Regions from separate parts of the Homo sapiens genome. Here region 1 is linked to region 2. The links are contacts of gene promoters, found by promoter capture Hi-C in blood cells and fetal thymus (Javierre and others, 2016). All regions are on one chromosome and are shown on one strand. The core of a region is centred on a gene start or on the middle of the fragment in contact, and the rest is flanking DNA. Distances in the headings are between cores, read along the strand shown.

Region 1 (6,284 bases), core at 1,460-3,959, 2.5 Mb after region 2:
CAAAGTTGTAACAAGACCTGCCTGACACCAAAGACCAAGTTCTTTCTCTTGTACCATTTAGGAACCCTCTTCCCCTTCCTGTGTTTCTACTTTTTTTTTTTCTGACAGAGTCTTTCAACCTCCCAGACTCAAGCGATCCTACCACCACAGCCTCTGAGTAGGTAGGACCACAGGAGCATACCACCATACCTGGCTAATTTTTGTTGTGTTTTCTGGTTTTGGGAGGTTTTTTTTGGTAGAGATAGGGTTTTGCCATGTTGCCCAGGCCAGTCTCAAACTCCTGGGCTCAAGCAATCCATCTACCTTGGCCTCTCCAAGTTCTGGGATTACAGGCATGAGCCACTGCTCCTGGTCTCTACATTTTTTAAGCTTTCACATAGCACAATACAGAGGTTAAGAACAAAAGCTCAGCCAGGCTTGGTGGCTCACGCCTGTAATCCCAGCACTTTGGGAGGCCCAGGTGGGTGGATTACCTGAACTCAGGAGTTCAAGGCCAGCCTGACCAACACGGCAAAACCCCATCTCTACTAAAAAATACAAAAATTAGCCAGGCATGGTGGCGCACACCTGTAATCCCAGCTACTAGGGAGGCCAAGGCAGGAAGAATTGCTTGAACCTGGGAGGCGGAGGTTTCAGTGAGCTAAGATCGCACTACTGCACTCCAGCCTGGGGGACAGAGCGAGACTCCATCTCACAAAAAAGAACAAAAGCTCCAGGCTGGGTGCAGTGGCTCACACCTGTAATCCCAGAACTTTGGGAGGCCGAGGCAGGAGCACTTGAGCCCAGGGGTTCTAGGGCAGCCTGGGCAGCATATGGAGACTCTATCTCTACAAAAAATTTTAAAATTTGCCAGGTATGGTGGTGTGCACCTGTAGTCCCAGCTCCCAGCTACTTGGGAGGCTGAGGTGGGACGATCTGCTTGAGCCTGAGAGGTCGAGGATATAGTGAGCCATGATCATGCCACTGCACTCCAGTCTGGGTGACAGAGCAAGACCTTTTCTCAAAAAAAGAGAGAGAGAAAAGAGTGCCAGCTCTAGGGATAGACTGCCTTGTTCGATGATCTTGAATGAACTATTTAATCTCTATTTACAAAATCTGGGACAAGTCACTTAACTTCATCAAGTCAGTTTCCCCATCTGTAAAATAAGAATTTTAATAGTAATATCGGCCGGGTGCAGTGGTTCATGCCTGTAATTCCAGCACTTTGGGAGGCTGAGGTGGGTGGCCTGAGGTCAGGAGTTCAAGACCAGCCTGGCCAACATGGTGAAACCCCATCTCTACTAAAAATTCAAAAATTAGCCAGGCATGGTGGCAGGTGCCTGTAATCCCAGCTACTCAGGAGGCTGAGACAGGAGAATTGCTTGAACCCAGGAGGCGGAGGTTGCAGTGAGCCAAGATTCTGCCACTGCCCTCCAGCCGGGGTGACAGAGCCAGAGTCCACCTCAAAAAAAAAAAAAAAAGGCATTTTAATAGCAATATCTACACTCAGGAGTTTCAGCGCTGATTAAATGAGATAACATCTAACACAGTGCCTAACCATTTGCTAGGAAACAGTAGATTTTAGCTCTATTATTCCCTCTCCATTTCACCTTGCTGGTTTCAGCCAAGTGCTTAGACTGGTCAAAGTAATTCTGAATCCCAGAAAATCCATGCAACTCCTGATGATCAAAAAATATTCTCTTTTAAGTGCTCACATATCATCTGCTTAGTAAACCATCCTAGAGTGTTTCTAGAAATTAACATTGAATTTACAAAGGTTTTTCCTACATCTAAGATAGAAGTCAGATTGTATCTAGAGTTCTTTCCCTCACTTTTATGAACTGTGACATGATCATATTGAAGAGGGAGAAATGAAGGACATTGTAACTCATTAAATGCATAAGACCCAGAAATAATAGAAAGTTGACTTCAGCTGTGATTCATCAGAGGTTCTTTGCATCAGTTCCTACCACTTTATCGCAATTCACTTCCCATATTGCTCAGCCCTATATATTTATCACTGGCAACCCACATTTGAGGCCAATGATTACAAAATGTTCTTTTGTACATCAACCCAGCTGCCAGGAGCCCACCCCCACCCCCACACTCAGCAGAGCTGGTTCAGATAACTAAGCTTTTGATATTTCAAGGCTGAAGGAAAAGGAACTCAATCCCCACATAAGTCCTGTGAGATATTTATTACTGTTCCCATTTTACTGCTGAGGAAGATGGGGCTTCTCAAGGCTATTATTCATATTTTATCCAAAGTCACAGAGTTATTAGGAATGCAGATCGCTGTTGACCTAGATCTCCCACCATGCCACTACAGGTTGAAGGAGCCACAGGCTGCAAACAGCAATGTTTTCCCAAACTGCTTATCCAGCCATGAACCACCCACAGCATTTTTGCAATATCTCCCTACCTCCTATGAAATTACTTACTTAATTTTTTTAATCAATGCACTTTTTGCTGCCTAAATAAATTTAGGGACTATTAGTCTAAACACTAGCAACTCAGAAATCACAGGTTTTATAACACCATCATGTTTATTTTGTGTAATATATTTTTAAATGGCCAGGCACAATAGCTCACGCCTGTAATCCCAGCAATTTGGGATACCAAGGCAGGAGGATCGCTTAAGGCAGGAGGATTGCTTGAGCCCAACAGTTTGAGACCAGTCTGGGCAACATAGAGAGACCCCGTCTCTACAAAAAAAAAAAAAAAAAAAATTGTTTTAATTAGCTGGGCATGGTGGTTCATGCCTGTAGTCCCAGCTACTTAAGAGACTGAGGTGGGAGGATTTCTTGAGCCTGGGAGGTTGAAACTACAGTGAGCCGTGATCTTGCCATTGCACTCCAGCCTGGGAGACAGAGTGAGACCATGTCTCAAAAATAAATAAATAAATGCATTAGATTCCTAGGGCTACCATAACAAATCATTACAAACCAAGTGGCTTAAAACAACAGAAATGTATTCTCTTACAGTTCAGGGGGCCAGAAGTCCAAAATCAAGGTGTTGATTTTCTGGAGGTTCTCAGGGAAAAATTGTCTGATGCCTTTTTCCTGGCTTCTTGGTGTTCTCGGCTTATAGGCATCATTCCAATCTCTATCTCCATAGTCACATGACCTTTTTCTCCCTGTGTGTCTTTGTGTCCAAATATCCCTCTTATTTCTTTTATAAAGATACCAGAGATCAAGATCCTTATTTAATTACATCTGCAAAGGCCCTATTTCCAAATAAGGTCACATTCTGAGGTTCGGGTTAGACATAAATTTTGAGAGGGAGATTATTCAACCCAGTATAAGTAAATGATGATTAAATCATTTGAAAGCTTATCCATGTACCACCTAAAATCATCTTGCATCTTGCCAGTGGTTTGCAAACCACACTAGAGAGATGTTAGTGAACATGACATTTCAAGGTGCTTGAGTCCCTCTCCAGTTTTAAAAGCAGCAGATTTTACAGTTAAGATGGTTGCAGTTTCTTTACTGCATTTGAACCAATATATTTTTGGTAAATCAAGAAGTTGATCCCCTAGATAGGCTCAATTCTCTGATTTTGAAAACTCAGGAAATGTTGTTTTGTTTTGTTTTTTGAGAGTTTCACTCTGTCACGCAGGCTGGAGTGCAGTGGCGCAGTCTTGGCTCACTGCAACCACTACCTCCCAGGTTCAAGCAATTCTCCTGCCTCAGCCTCCCAAAGTGTTGGGATTACAGGTGTGAGCCATTGTGCCCAGCAGAAAATGTTATTAATAATAAATTACTTCAAGTGCTATTTTAAGAAGATAGATGAACACTAGTTGATTGCATGACTCATTGTTTTCTGAGTTCAGTACATGTGCATGTACAGGTCTCTGTGGGGTTGTATTTGGGGATTTATTAAGTTTTCTCTCCATAGAGACAACCAAGGATGGTAAGGTGAATTTGCAATTTAAAGAAGCCATTAGGTAACACTGGACATTGTAAAACTCCATCTTGTGCAGCAAGGCAGGATGCCTAGGAACACTGTAAACAGGAACTCAGAGTATATTTATAGGAACCCAAAGCCCAAATGTTCAGTCCATGGAAAAAGGGTGAAGAGGAGGATTTGATTTTCAGCAGTCTTTATGAGACCTAGACCTCTGTGTGAATCACAGGTTGAGTAAACTTGGGCTTTTCCATTTGAGATAATATTCAGAAAACCTTACTCTTCTAAATGCACAGATTTCAGCTCTTTCTAAAAATCATGCACTGCATAATGGAAATTAAAGAACTCAGAAGACATTTTTATTGATCATTCTTATTTTTAATTTAGATGCTTTTTTTCTTCCCAAATATTAAACATTATCATTTATCAAGAACATAAGAAGGGAAACTGTCTTAAAAGGAAAACTATCAGATGGTGGAGATCAATCATTGTATAGGCTCCATGCAAAATAATATAAAAGATGCACAAGAGCAGATGCCGTGCTTGGAAACGACATCTCAATAAGCACATTTCCATAAACACATATGGTGTAGACTCTTTCACATACACACCACCTCAGTGTTTACTCTGAATTAAATAATTCAAGATGGTATAACCAGCTCACAGAAATATGATAAAACACTTTAAATAAACTGAGTTGTTGTCATGACAAATAGCCTACACAAAAGAAATAACAACAGTCACACTGATGAGAGGAGACGGGGTAAGTCCTAAAACTGGAAGGTCTCGTATTTGTTGGCAAAAACCAAAGTACAAGATGTTACTAACCTGTACCTTGTTTCCCCCACACAAACATATCTTAAAGAGGCAGCCCAAACTTTCATGTGTGAATGATTATTGGCCTTCAAATAGTATTCGTTACTTTATGACTCAATATCACCCAACACCATGGCCAATATAGAGAGCTTTGTAAAATTTCTCTTGCAGAACTTCCTCAGACTGACTACCCACCTTCATGTGACAATGTGTTCCTTTCCTTTTTAATCACTCCTAGGTTTTCATGATGTGCACTGACCAAATGGACAAGAAGGCTTTGGAGGGTCAAGAATGACCAACTCCAGATGAAACTGTATTGCTTTATCAGAAGCTTATTTTTCTTTTTCTTTGTTTTGTTTTGTTTTTTGGAGATGGAGTTTCATTCTTGTTGCCCAGGCTGGACTGCAATGGTGCAATCTCAGCTCACTGCAACCTCCGCTTCCCGGGTTCAAGTGATTCTCCTGACTCAGCCTCCCGAGTAGCTGGGATTACAGGCATGTGCCACCACACCCAGCTAATTTTGTATTTTTAGTAGAGACGGGGTTTCTCCATGTTGGTCAGGGTGGTCTCGAACTCCTGACCTTAGGTGATCCATCCACCTTGGCCTCCCAAAGTGCTGGGATTACAGGCGTGAGCCACCGCGCCTGGCATTGTTTTGTTTTTTTTTTTTAAACAGGGTCTCATTCTGTCACTCAGGCTGGAGAGAGGCGGCATGATCATGACTCACTGCAGCTTCAACCTTCTAGGCACAAGTGATCCTCCCACCTCAGTCTCCTGAGAAGCTGGCACTACGAGTATCCACCACCATGCCCAGCTAATTTTTTTATTTTGTTTGTAGAAACAGGGGTCTCACTATGTGGCCCAGGCTGGTCTAAAACTCCTGGACTCAAGTAATCCTCCCACCTCCGCCTTCTAAAGTGCTGGCATTATAGGTGTGAGACAACACACCTGGCCAGAAGCTTATATTTTTAACAGGAGACAGACAGCAGTCTGATATGCTTGTAGAGGGAAGGAAAGAGAGATGGTGGAGCGGAGAAAGGCCCACTGGGGGAAAAGCTGGAGAATGAGAAAGAAGCTGTGCTGGCTGGGCGCAGTGGCTCACACCTGTAATCTCAGCACTTTGGGAGGCCGAGGCAGGTGGATTGCTTAAGGCCAGGAGTTTAAGACCAACCTGGCCAAAATGGTGAAACCCCCGTCTCTACTAAAAATACAAAAATCAGCAAGACGTAGTGGTGCACACCTGTAGTCCCAGCTACTTGGGAGGCTGAGGCATGAGAGTTATTTGAACCTGGGAGGCAGAGGTTGCAGTGAGCCAAGATCATGCCACTGCACTCCAGCTGGACTCCAGCTCTAAAAAGAAAAAAGAAAAAAGAAAAAAAGAAGGAAGCTGTGCTACGGTTATTTATTCTGTCCCTCTTTCAGAAATTCAAAGTGAGGCCGGGTGCGGTAGCTCACACCTGTCATCCCAGCACTTTGGGAGGCCGAGGCAGGCAGATAGCTTGAGGTCAGGAGTTCGAGACCAGCCTGGCCAACATGGTGAAACCCCATGAAATTCCATCTCTACTAAAAATACAAAAATTAGC
Region 2 (6,649 bases), core at 1,131-3,630:
GATTTCTGCACCCTCTTCTCAGCTGTTGGGGTGAGCTAGGAAAATGTTGATCAGAACTGAGCACGTTAAAGACTTCCACGGGCAACAAAAATGGCCAGAGGACATCTTTCCCCTCCCTCCCCATACCTTTATTTTGTAGCGTCCCTTTCCCAAGTTGACCAGATCCTCCGTGGTCAGACGGTCTCCATCTAACTCGATGTACTACACAAAAGAAGGGGATCTCAGTGAGTCTGAACAGCTTGATTATTCTAACCAGAGTAGGGACACCTCCAACAGAACCAAACTGACATTTCAGAGATCTGATCATTGCGTGAAACATGAATATGCTAAATAAAAATGCATCTTGCATAAGAGGAGGCTTATTGGTGCAAAAGCATAATGCCTTTCCAAGCCCCCTTTCCCCACTACAGAGCTGGATAAAGCCCTGTGGTTGGTTGGTTTGTTTGTTTTGAGGCAGAGTCTCCAGCCCAGGCTGGAGTGCAGTGGTACAAACATGGCTCACTGCAACCTCTGCCTCCTGGGTTCAAGCAATTCTCGTGCCTCAGGCTCCTGAGTAGCTGGTATTACAGGTGCACGCCACCATACCTGGCTAATTTTTGTACTTTTAGTAGAGATGGGGTTTCACCATGTTGGCCAGGCTGGTTTCAAACTGATGACCTCAAGTGAACTGCCCACCTCGGCCACCCAAAGTGCTGGGACTACAGACATGAGTCACTGCTCCCGGCCAGCCCTGTTCTAATTGACAGTGTTTTCTCAGAAGTTTTCCTGGCTTTCCTCCCTCTTAAATAAGGGGCCTTAATTTTCTGAAGAAAAAGAAAGTGGTTTGAAGCTTACCTTTTCAGGCTCCCGGTACTTGCTGTATCTGTATCCAGGTAAAGGAACATATAGGGTGGTGTGGAAAAACCCCCAGCCCCACCATCTGCAGGAGCCACCCCCAGAGCAGACCAAAGAGCCTGTGGGAAAGGATACAGATAAACTCCTTCTGGTTGAGATGGAATGAAGTCAGGAGACATGGCATCACCCTCTATAACTAAAACAATGCACGGGAGACTCGTTACAGATCACATTGTACAGCCATGTTCCCCCTGTTAAACCAAGGAACGGCCCATCATTGGCCCATGAATTCTATAGAAATGGCTGCTTTAAAACTGCTTCAGATGGTTTCATGTGGTCTTAGCATCTTTATGTAGGAGGAGAGCAAAAAGCAGAAAGGTAGGTGTCAGGGCAGAGACCAGGGGTTTAGATGAAAGTTCAAGACAGAATTCCACTTCCATCCCCATTCCCAGCTTTATTTTCTTCAAAATCTGAACTGATGCTATGCTGCCGGCCTCCAGTCTGGGGGTGGGGGTGGATTCTTTCGAAAGGCAAAATAACCTCAAAATGATTCAGTCACTGCAAAGGGATTCAGACCTGCAGCCTTGAGTACCAGTCTAGTCTTTGTTACTTACTAGCTGCTGGAGTCTGGGTAAGTTACCTCCTCTCTGATTTCTCCTCCATCAGAGGTGGAGGAGAATCCTACCCATCTCACAGGGTTGTGTGAGGACTTAAGATCCCCAGAGGCGTGGCATGTGCCTGCACAGGGCCAGCCTCGGCAAGCCTGACCTCTGCTCATCATTTTCCCTGAGGTGGGGGTTCAATGCTGCAAAGACTAAGCCAGGCCAAACCGCACCCGTTCGCGGCCCTCTCCTGCAGCCACTCACCCACTTCCACGAACTCGTTGTTCTCTAGGGCCACCTCGAGCCGGTCCTCGTTGTCCAGCAGGCCCAGGCCCTTGCACCGGCGCACAAGGAAGTGCGCGTCATCCACGGAGGTGAAGCCACCATTGTCGGGCTTATTCTTGATATAGCGCCTCACGGCCTCCCGGCCCAGCCAGCCCACAGTGAGCTGCGCGTCCTGGCAGGGCACTGCCAGCCATTCCCCACGTACGTGCACCGTGTATCTGGGCATGGCTCCGCTGCAGCCTGAGGTCCTCAGCTGGTCACAGGAGGGGAGAGCTTTATGCAGGAGTGGCTACCGGGGTGTGGTCAGCTGGAAGGATGAGAATAGACTTTCAAACCACTCCCCCTCCTTCACCTTTACTCATTCATGCATTGGACAAATATTTATTGAGGTACCTGCTGTCCCTTTGGTTTTTGTAGCCGAGCAGGGGCAGGAGCAGGGGATGCAGACGGGTGAGCCTCCTGTCCACTTTCCATCCAGACCTGCTGCCAGAAAGGCCTGGGGTCTCCCACCCTGGGAGGTGCTGTTCTTGTCCCTGATGGCACCTACCTGCTGCTGGCCCCCTTTCTTCAGGGTCCCCAATTTCTCTCTCTTCCCTCGTTTCTGTCTGTGTTCTCTGCCATTAAGGGCAGCTTATAAACACCATGTTCCTGTCTTTATCTGAGATTACTCAACTGTAAAACGTGTTCTGTGGGCCAACTGTGACACTGGGAGTGTGGCAATCGTCACTCATTTGTTTATTCCACAAACATGTATTGAGCAACTACTTCCTGTCACCAGTAAGGTTTTCTGAAGCTTTCTTTCCACCAGGGAAGACTGCAAAGGCCAGAGATCATTTTCACAACTAAAGGTCGTCATCTGGGCAAATGAACCACTCTGACTTGGAGATTAGGGGCTCAGACAGCCGTGGATGAGAGTCCAGCTCTACTACTTATTAGCCTTGATTAGGTGAGTATTACCCTGTATTTCCTTATCAGAAGGCCTAGGGGCTAACTGCCTCCTTCCAGTATGTGCAGGATTTACCTGTGATCAAATCCTGGCTCTGCCATTTGCTAAGTGTATGACTTGTGGGCAAGTGATTTGACTTCTCTGGGCCTCAGTTGCCTCATCTGTAAAATGAAGATAATGGTAATGATGATAGTATATATGTCAAAGGGCTATTGGGAGGATGAAGTCAGTTCATATATGTAAAGCCCTCAACACAACACCTGGCATAGTGGAAATATTATAGAAGTGTCTGTGATTACTAGTATCTGGACACCAATACTCCATGTAACTATAATGCTTTATAAATGTTCTGTATGAATCATAAAGCTATAAAGTTCCATAAATGCTCTTTCATCTTGGCACATGGATATCCCTCACCCAATTAAGCTTCTTCACCACAGATAACTGCTCCCTGCACCCGCCTTATTACCATTGGTATTAAGGAACTCTGGATAGCATGATTACGGCATCAAAGATATGCAGATGCTATTTTGACTAAGCAGCACTTTCATCGTAAGCCAATTTTTAGAGATTTGATTATTGCACTAGAAAAATCCTGAAAAGTCTGTTTCCACTAAATCAGACTTCTGTTGGGAAGAGAGACATGGTTGCTCAAGAAAAACACCTATACTCATACCCAGAGTCCCTCTCATCTGCTGACAGCTTCCCAGGAAGCGTACAAATAGCTACCCTTCCTTGAGCCTTATTGAAACTTGCTCTTCAGATACCCACACCATGACTGCACCCTGGAATTTGTCATGACCTGAATTTGACACACTTAAGAAATCACCCTGGAATCTGTCACGACCTGAATTTGACACACTTAAGAAATCTGAAATTCCAATATTCCACCTTCTGACCACAACCTTCCAGCTGCCCTTTTACTCTAGTCACTGCCAGCCTTGGACCTGACCTCCAGTCAGTCTCTTCATCCCTCCACTTCCCACCAGCATCCTCACTTACTATCCTAGGAAGCTGGTCCCTAGTCGCTCACTGGACCACTCTTTCTTAAGCACTCTGAGATTCCTTTGCATCCCTAAACTTATGTCTACACTTGGAATAACACCCATCCCCTTAGTCATCACAAAAAACAGCCATCTCTTGGAAGGATTGCTTAAGCCTAGGCAGTCAATGCTGCAATGAGTTATGATTATACCACTGTACTCCAGCCTGGGTGAGAGCAAGACCCTGTTTAAAATTAAAAGAAACTGTCATATCTGTTCACCCAGGCAGAAGACACTGATAGAGAAAGTCCTGTGATCACATAGTTTGATGGTATTGCCCTTTTATTCCATCCAGCCCACAGTGACTTTCCAAAACTTTGACCCCTCTGCCAGGACCTTCTCGACATCCACCTCTAATTCTCAGAAGGAGACCTTACTTCCTACATCTGTGAGAAAACTGAGGACTGCACATGTGAACCACCTTAACCTTCTGCCCCACCCCCCCCCATTCATTCCTTGACTCATTTAACAAATATTTTTTCAACACCTGTTATGTAACAAGCTCTATGCGAGGTGCTGGGGATGAAATAAATAACAAACACGCTCTACATTCATGAGGCTTACTGTCTGGTGATGGATAAAGCTGTATAAAGATGACTAATAAGAGGTCTAACTATCTTCATGCTGCAAAACAACCCAAACTACTGCATGCTCCAGTTGACTGTCACTGCCGAGACCAGCTTCTGAGTAATTTCAGCCCAGGCATCAGACTAGTGAGGGAAGGAGCTTCCAGGTGATACCACCTCCCAGCCATGTAAGTCACCCCCAGCAGTTTGAGGATTCTAAACTCAGGCCCTACGCATTGTGGAGCAGAGTCTTCCTTGTTATTCTTTCTCCAGAAACGCACTTTCCAACTTCCTTTGCCTGTCTAGATCTTTCTTACTCCTTAAGCCTGTTTAGGCCTTTTCTTCTCCAGGAAGCATTCCCTAAATTCTTCAGTTGGGTTAAGTGGCCCTTCTCTGGGATGCCTTAGCATAGCTCTTCTTTAGTATTATCTAGGAAATTACTTGTCTGTGTTCATCCATAATTATGTATATATCCGATCTGGCACAAAGACATTTAGCATATGCTTACTAGCTGAACTGAAGAAATGTGAACTGCACCGAGCTGGCCCCTAGGTAAACCAGCAAGCAGGATTAAGTTTGTCTTTAGCGCCCTCTACCTTCTTCACAGCACCCTTCCATGCCACCCTTCAAGCATCCCTTGTCACAATTCACTTTCAGTATCACTAAGTGATAACTAAAAACGACATTAACTTACAGCTTGTCTTGTAAGCTCATAGGGCAGAAGCCTTAAAGAGCAGTATTTGGGTAAATGGATTTGCTAAAGTCTAATCTTAGAACATGATCTTATGCCAGTGATTTGAGCTGAACTCCCTTCTCTGTATTCTTGGCAAGGAAGGCAAGGGAGAGCAGAGCCTGGAGAAAGAATCACACTGCAGCATAGATAAGTGACCAAGAGGACAGAACGAGGCGGGTGGATTGCTTGAGCCCAGGAGTTCGAGACCAGCCTGGGCAACATGGCCAAACTCTTTCTCTACAAAACAAAAATTAGCCAGACATGGTGGTGCATGCCTGTAGTCTCAGCTACTCCAGAGGCTGAGGTGGGAGGATGGCTTGAACCCAGAGGCTGATGCTGCAGTGAGCTATGGTCATGCCACTGCACTCCAGCCTGGGCGACAGAGTGAGACCCTGTCTCAAAACAAAACAAAACAAAAACTGCTAGGGAGAGTGAGAGCCAGGGAAAAGTCAGGATTCCGGGAATAGGCAGGAATATGTCTCTTCCATACCTGTCCCACCTTGGGTGTTCACTCCTATTGTAACTTTAGTCACTGCATTAGCACTTTGAGGGGTTATTTGGTCAGGACACCGCTCCCCACCCCCACCCCATGCCAACAATTATACTCTAAGACACCATTCCTCTTACACAATTTATTTGACCAGAGGTGGACCCAACCTGGGTTAGAGTCTCACCTCTGGGAATTTGGAATTGTGATAGCCTCCCCATGTGGTCAGAGCTATTTGTAACAGTAAAGCTGGAGAGTGGCCGGCCTGTACAACGTGGACTAGAGAGGCAGAGGTGAGGGACAGGAGCACTGACGGTGCTGCAGTCCTGGGCATCAGACCCCTTCTGTCCGTCCCAGGTTCTGATAATCTCCCCATACCTAGCATCCTTAAAATAATCTTCCTTTTCCCTTTTTGACTTCTGGTCACTTGGATTGCTGTTACTTGCAATCAAAGAATTCTAACACAGCTATGGTTCTAATTAATTCTAACTAATAGAGCTAATACACTAATAATTCTACCTAGTACAGCTATGTGTGCTGAGATGCCCTGGGGCACTACGTTGCATTGGCAGGGGTGCTTTGTTATGTTTGTCTTTTATTTGGTTCAAGTTATTTTGTTGTCTTTGAACAGACTGTGAGAGGGATGGGAAAGACTGGTGCTTGGGGTGGCCATCTGACCCCTGATGGACAGGAGACCAGGACAAGCCCACTGGATGAGCCGGAGGGGTCCAGGAGGAGGGAGTTGAGAGCTCCTGCTAGGGTTGACACATTCTGGTAAGGAGTTCATCTGCTGTCCACCAGGTAGGTGGTGTGCAAATACAACTAAGCATTCATGTTTAAGGTTTTTTTTTAATTTTTTATTTTTCGAGGCAGAGTCTCCATTGCCCAGGCTGGAGTGCAATGGCGCCATCTCGGCTCACTACAACCCCTGCCTCCCAGATTAAAGTGCTTATCCTCCCTCAGCCTCCTGAGTAGCTGGAATTACAGTCGTGCCTCCACGCCCAGCTAATTTTTGTATTTTTAGTAGAGACGGGGTTTCACCATGTTGGCCAGGCTGGTCTCAAACTCCTGACCTCAGGTGATTCACCCGCCTTGGCCTCCCAAAGTGCTGGGATTACAGGCATGAACCACTGCGCCCGGACTTATGTTTAAG

Evidence for each region. The method cuts DNA at HindIII sites, captures the fragments that hold promoters and counts their contacts. A CHiCAGO score of 5 or more calls a contact.
Region 1: a contact is called between a fragment that was not itself captured here and the fragment with the promoter of HAL in region 2, in 1 of 17 cell types (M0 macrophages). The highest score is 5.7, in M0 macrophages.

What each region holds. Positions count from the first base shown.
Region 1 is chr12:98,462,362-98,468,645 of GRCh38, forward strand. No RefSeq gene overlaps it. Among named protein-coding and RNA genes, the nearest start is that of TRD-GTC1-1, 38 kb to the right of the region's middle. RefSeq lists a silencer at 1,368-1,741. The HindIII fragment of the contact is 1,197 bases long and covers 2,112-3,308 here.
Region 2 is chr12:95,993,964-96,000,612 of GRCh38, forward strand. HAL (histidine ammonia-lyase) reads right to left here and starts at 2,381. Exons shown (of 21, transcript NM_002108.4): 1 at 2,115-2,381; 2 at 1,701-2,028; 3 at 970-1,030; 4 at 835-862; 5 at 127-201; 6 at 1-35. The coding sequence starts at 1,947. LOC102723340 (a long non-coding RNA gene) reads left to right here and starts at 2,519. Exons shown (of 4, transcript XR_945237.4): 1 at 2,519-2,667; 2 at 4,368-4,464; 3 at 6,128-6,297. RefSeq lists enhancers at 2,594-2,763, 3,988-4,282, 4,729-4,788. The HindIII fragment of the contact is 1,685 bases long and covers 828-2,512 here.